Regions from separate parts of the Homo sapiens genome. Here region 1 is linked to region 2. The links are contacts of gene promoters, found by promoter capture Hi-C in human tissues and cell types (Jung and others, 2019). All regions are on one chromosome and are shown on one strand. Each heading gives the region's core, a stretch centred on a gene start or on the middle of the fragment in contact. The rest is flanking DNA. Distances are from core to core; before and after follow the strand shown. Region 1 has its middle 30 kb from the start of RASSF8. Region 2 holds the start of KRAS (KRAS proto-oncogene, GTPase).

Region 1 (2,713 bases), core at 208-2,707, 680 kb before region 2:
GAATCACTTGAGCCTGGGAGATGGAGGTTGCAGGGACCTGATAGCATACCGCTGCATTCCAATCCAGCCTGGGCGACAGAGAGAGATCCTGTCTCAAAAAAAAAAAAAAAAAAAAAAGGAAAGAAATCACTTGACTTGACCTGGAGTCCAGACTCCTTGGTGAAGCAAGGGAAACTAAAAGAATGTGATTAGCTAGGATTAGAAAAAACAAACAAACAAACGAAGAGCCAGGCATGGTGGTGTGCACCTGCAGTCCTAGAGACCCAGGACATGGGAGAATTGCTTGAGCCCAGGAGTTTGAGGCTGCCATGAGCTATAATTGTGCCACCATAGTCCAGTCCATGAGGCCAAAGTGCCACTTCTTTAAGGTGAAGGGATGTACAAAAGATAGAAATTAATGAAGATGAAATCAGAAAGGATCATCATCACGACCACCAAATTTAAAATCTTAGAGTATTGATCATAAGGTACAAGGCTGGCCATTCTGGTGGGTTCTGTGGATCTCAGAAGTAATCGGAAGATGCCACTCCGGGAATGTCTGCTTGACCCTGGGAGGCTATTGCTCCTCAGGAAGCTTCCAGGGATCCTCCCAAGGTCCTGCAGGTGGAAGACAAATAGAGAACAGACAGGCGATGTCTGCTGTTGTCAATGGCAATAAATCACAAAGGAAAGCCTTTGCCAGGAATCTTAAATTGAACCTAAGGGGTTTAGTTGAAACTGAGTAGTCCTTTGGAAGGGAACTGAACAATGACTCAACTCATTGACTTTGGCTCACTGGGTCCCCTTTCCCTCCCTCCCAGGGTAACTGAGATTGAATGAATAATAGCTGTGAAATACTCCCTTGAGAACAAGACTCCTACACACTAATAAAAACTAAATGCTTTCATTACAATTTAAGTGAATGACTTGCTACCCTAAAAAATGCCTCATAGTGAATGGCATAAGAGTGACACTTCCCCAAAATGTTACACATTAATATTAATTTATAGCAGAATCATGAATGTCTACACATTTTATTGATTGAAAATTAATTTGTGTAAACATTTGGGGAATGTTGGGAGGGAAGTCAATAAATACATGAAGTATTCAATTATTTGAACTACTTAGGTATAAGCAAACATTTACTATAGTATCATGGAAGAGTACATTCAGCACATTGAATAACTACTGATATTTTGGAGTCATTTGAAATGAAAAACATCTTTGTTCTCTCAGATCCCATTTCACCTCTCCTTTTCCTTCCCCTTGCCCCAATCCTTCCAATCCCTACTGTCTTTAAATATTTATTTCAGAGATATGGCAAAGATGGGAAGGAAAAAATTCACTTATTCCAGAAAGCAGCTAATTTCCTGGTCTTCATGACATAAGCATACTAGCTCTCCCGCACTGAAACAAATTGGATGACAATTTTAGGATAATTGAATTGCTTGATGCTTTTCAAGTTGTTAGGGAATCAGTGCTGTGAAAACCAATTTTTTTCAGTGCTACCTATACTGTCCTGTGATAGGAGATTTTCTATTTACCCATTCAAAACAAAACACAGAGCAAAGATTTATAGATTTGTGAGTGATTTGTGTTATATATACAATGGCAGTGAAAATGAACACCTGGTAAACTAAATTAAAACAAACTAAGTTGTCCGAATTTTCAATTAATCAGATATCATAATTAGGAAGTGACAAAAATCTGCACAAAAGAGATGTGTATATCCTAATTTAAAATGATTTCAGGGCCAAATAGCAACCTGTTTTGTTTTTTTGTTTGTTTGTTTTATGAGACAGGGTCTTGCTCTGTTACCCAGGCTGCAGTGCAACGGTATGATCATGGCTTACTGCAGGCCCAACCTCCTGACTCAAGCAATCCTCCCATCTCAGGCTCCCAAGCAGCTGAGACCACAGACAGGTACCACCACGCCTGGCTTTTTTTTTTTTTTTTTGGTATAGACAGAGTCTCGCCCCTATATCGCCCAGGCTCGTCTCAAACTCTTAGGCTCAAGTGACTCACTTGCCTTTGCCTCCCAAAGTGTTAGAATTACAGATGTGAGGCCAGACATGGTGGTTCACACCTGTATTTCCAGCATTTTGGGAGGTGGAGGAGGGTGGATCACTTGAGGTCAGGAGTTCGAAACAAGCCTGGCCAACATGTCAAAAGCTCATCTCTATTAAAAATACAAAAATTAGCCGGGTGTGGTGGCGGATGCCTGTACTACTCGGGAGGCTACTCGGGAGGCTGAGGCAGGAGAATCACTTGAACCCTGGAGGCGAAAGTTGCAGTGAGCCAAGATCATGAGATTGCACTCCCTCCTGAGCGACAGATCAAGACTCCGTCTCAAAAAACAAACTAAAGGATTAAAGATGTGAGCCCAGCCAGCAGCCAGTTTTGGATGGAGATGGGGATAGTAGGGTTCTGAGTTATGAAACAATTGATAATGTTACCAAACAAAATGGTTAGTAATCATAGAAGAGACTAAGTCATGAAAAGAAAATTTAAGGGGCAGAGACAAGCCATGAATCTGAACAGAAATGGAATGATTTAGGTCTCTGGCTCTCACACTTGAACATGAATCAGAATCACCTGGAGGACTTTTTAAACCACCAATTGCTGGTTCCACTCCCAAAGTTTCTGATGCAGTAGATCTGGGGTGGGGCCTGAGAATTTCCATTTCTTTTTTTTTTTTTTAATATGAGATGGGGTCTCACTATGTTGTCCAGCC
Region 2 (2,959 bases), core at 402-2,901:
GGAAGGGAGAACAGTAGGATGAGAGTTCAGAGAAGAGGGTAGGGGATATCAAATAATTTAAGGCCATGTAGGATTTTTGAGAAGAATTTTGCTTTTATGTCAAGTGGAATGAGGGCCACTGATGATCTGGGAGTAGAGTGACTATGATCCGACATGAAGTATACTCCATTTTTTAACTATGTGAACTTGTGCCAACGTTTTAACCTCTAAATCTGTTTCGTCATTTGTAAAACGGTAAAAAGTATTTTACCTCATAAGGTTGTCGTGATGATTAAATAAGATGATACGATAAGTGCAAAAGATTTAGCTTGTACTTAACATAGAGTAGGCACATTTTCTCCCCTTCCCTGTCTTTCACTTTTCTCTTCTGCCCCTTCCACCTGGCGCTAGGAGGGGGAGACTGGAATAAACCTTGCAGATTACAGCCCGTGTAAGAGTAGAAAGGAAAGGATGACAGTTGATGTAAAGCCTTGGTTAACAGACATAATAGCTGGGATTTAAATTCAGCTTTATTGGTGGTTTATGATGTGGACTAGAGGAATGGAACTGAAAGTCTCGGAGGAGGGGCGATCCTATCAGGTACAGGCGCTGCTTTTCCAGCCCTCAATCCTCAAGACTCTCCCAAGATACATTTCTAGGTAGTTTATCAACACAGACTCCGGGTATGCTAGCATGTTTAATTGCCCCATTGTTTAATGTCTTAACTCCACGAACTTTAACTGATTAATCTGTCTTCTAATTAATGTTTGAATGACTCTCCTCAGGTCTAAACTACCAAGGCCATCTCTACTTAAAAACAGTTGTCTTTTGTTTGTGATTTCAGGGGCCCTGGGTATAAGCGAAGTCCCTGTTTAGAGACCTTGTGATGGGTTCAAAATATCAAGAAAGATAGCAAAATATCACAAGCCTCCTGACCCGAGAAGATTAGCGTTGAAAGGGTCTGTCGTGTTTGTTTGGGCCTGGGGCTAAATTCCCAGCCCAAGTGCTGAGGCTGATAATAATCGGGGCGGCGATCAGACAGCCCCGGTGTGGGAAATCGTCCGCCCGGTCTCCCTAAGTCCCCGAAGTCGCCTCCCACTTTTGGTGACTGCTTGTTTATTTACATGCAGTCAATGATAGTAAATGGATGCGCGCCAGTATAGGCCGACCCTGAGGGTGGCGGGGTGCTCTTCGCAGCTTCTCTGTGGAGACCGGTCAGCGGGGCGGCGTGGCCGCTCGCGGCGTCTCCCTGGTGGCATCCGCACAGCCCGCCGCGGTCCGGTCCCGCTCCGGGTCAGAATTGGCGGCTGCGGGGACAGCCTTGCGGCTAGGCAGGGGGCGGGCCGCCGCGTGGGTCCGGCAGTCCCTCCTCCCGCCAAGGCGCCGCCCAGACCCGCTCTCCAGCCGGCCCGGCTCGCCACCCTAGACCGCCCCAGCCACCCCTTCCTCCGCCGGCCCGGCCCCCGCTCCTCCCCCGCCGGCCCGGCCCGGCCCCCTCCTTCTCCCCGCCGGCGCTCGCTGCCTCCCCCTCTTCCCTCTTCCCACACCGCCCTCAGCCGCTCCCTCTCGTACGCCCGTCTGAAGAAGAATCGAGCGCGGAACGCATCGATAGCTCTGCCCTCTGCGGCCGCCCGGCCCCGAACTCATCGGTGTGCTCGGAGCTCGATTTTCCTAGGCGGCGGCCGCGGCGGCGGAGGCAGCAGCGGCGGCGGCAGTGGCGGCGGCGAAGGTGGCGGCGGCTCGGCCAGTACTCCCGGCCCCCGCCATTTCGGACTGGGAGCGAGCGCGGCGCAGGCACTGAAGGCGGCGGCGGGGCCAGAGGCTCAGCGGCTCCCAGGTGCGGGAGAGAGGTACGGAGCGGACCACCCCTCCTGGGCCCCTGCCCGGGTCCCGACCCTCTTTGCCGGCGCCGGGCGGGGCCGGCGGCGAGTGAATGAATTAGGGGTCCCCGGAGGGGCGGGTGGGGGGCGCGGGCGCGGGGTCGGGGCGGGCTGGGTGAGAGGGGTCTGCAGGGGGGAGGCGCGCGGACGCGGCGGCGCGGGGAGTGAGGAATGGGCGGTGCGGGGCTGAGGAGGGTGAGGCTGGAGGCGGTCGCCGCTGGTGCTGCTTCCTGGACGGGGAACCCCTTCCTTCCTCCTCCCCGAGAGCCGCGGCTGGAGGCTTCTGGGGAGAAACTCGGGCCGGGCCGGCTGCCCCTCGGAGCGGTGGGGTGCGGTGGAGGTTACTCCCGCGGCGCCCCGGCCTCCCCTCCCCCTCTCCCCGCTCCCGCACCTCTTGCCTCCCTTTCCAGCACTCGGCTGCCTCGGTCCAGCCTTCCCTGCTGCATTTGGCATCTCTAGGACGAAGGTATAAACTTCTCCCTCGAGCGCAGGCTGGACGGATAGTGGTCCTTTTCCGTGTGTAGGGGATGTGTGAGTAAGAGGGGAGGTCACGTTTTGGAAGAGCATAGGAAAGTGCTTAGAGACCACTGTTTGAGGTTATTGTGTTTGGAAAAAAATGCATCTGCCTCCGAGTTCCTGAATGCTCCCCTCCCCCATGTATGGGCTGTGACATTGCTGTGGCCACAAAGGAGGAGGTGGAGGTAGAGATGGTGGAAGAACAGGTGGCCAACACCCTACACGTAGAGCCTGTGACCTACAGTGAAAAGGAAAAAGTTAATCCCAGATGGTCTGTTTTGCTTGGTCAAGTTAAACCCGAAGAAAACCCGCAGAGCAGAAGCAAGGCTTTTTCCTTGCTAGTTGAGTGTAGACAGCAATAGCAAAAATAGTACTTGAAGTTTAATTTACCTGTTCTTGTCCTTTCCCCTATTTCTTATGTATTACCCTCATCCCCTCGTCTCTTTTATACTACCCTCATTTTGCAGATGTGTTCTACATCTCAAGAGTTATTACAGTACTCCAAAACAGCACTTACATGATTTTTTAAACTTACAGAGGAATTGTAGCAATCCACCAGCTAACCGCCTGAAATAGACTTAAAC

What was found. The method cuts DNA at HindIII sites, captures the fragments that hold promoters and counts their contacts. A contact is called where the count stands out against the background at its distance.
Region 1: a fragment that was not itself captured here is called in contact with the fragment with the promoter of KRAS in region 2 in 1 of the 25 tissues and cell types used here (mesenchymal stem cells).

The regions. Positions count from the first base shown.
Region 1 is chr12:25,927,393-25,930,105 of GRCh38, reverse strand. No RefSeq gene overlaps it. Among named protein-coding and RNA genes, the nearest start is that of RASSF8, 30 kb to the left of the region's middle. The HindIII fragment of the contact is 4,682 bases long and covers 1-2,713 here.
Region 2 is chr12:25,249,621-25,252,579 of GRCh38, reverse strand. It overlaps KRAS (KRAS proto-oncogene, GTPase), which reads left to right and starts at 1,651. Exons shown (of 5, transcript NM_004985.5): 1 at 1,651-1,829. RefSeq lists silencers at 1,091-1,940, 2,001-2,050. The HindIII fragment of the contact is 8,237 bases long and covers 1-2,959 here.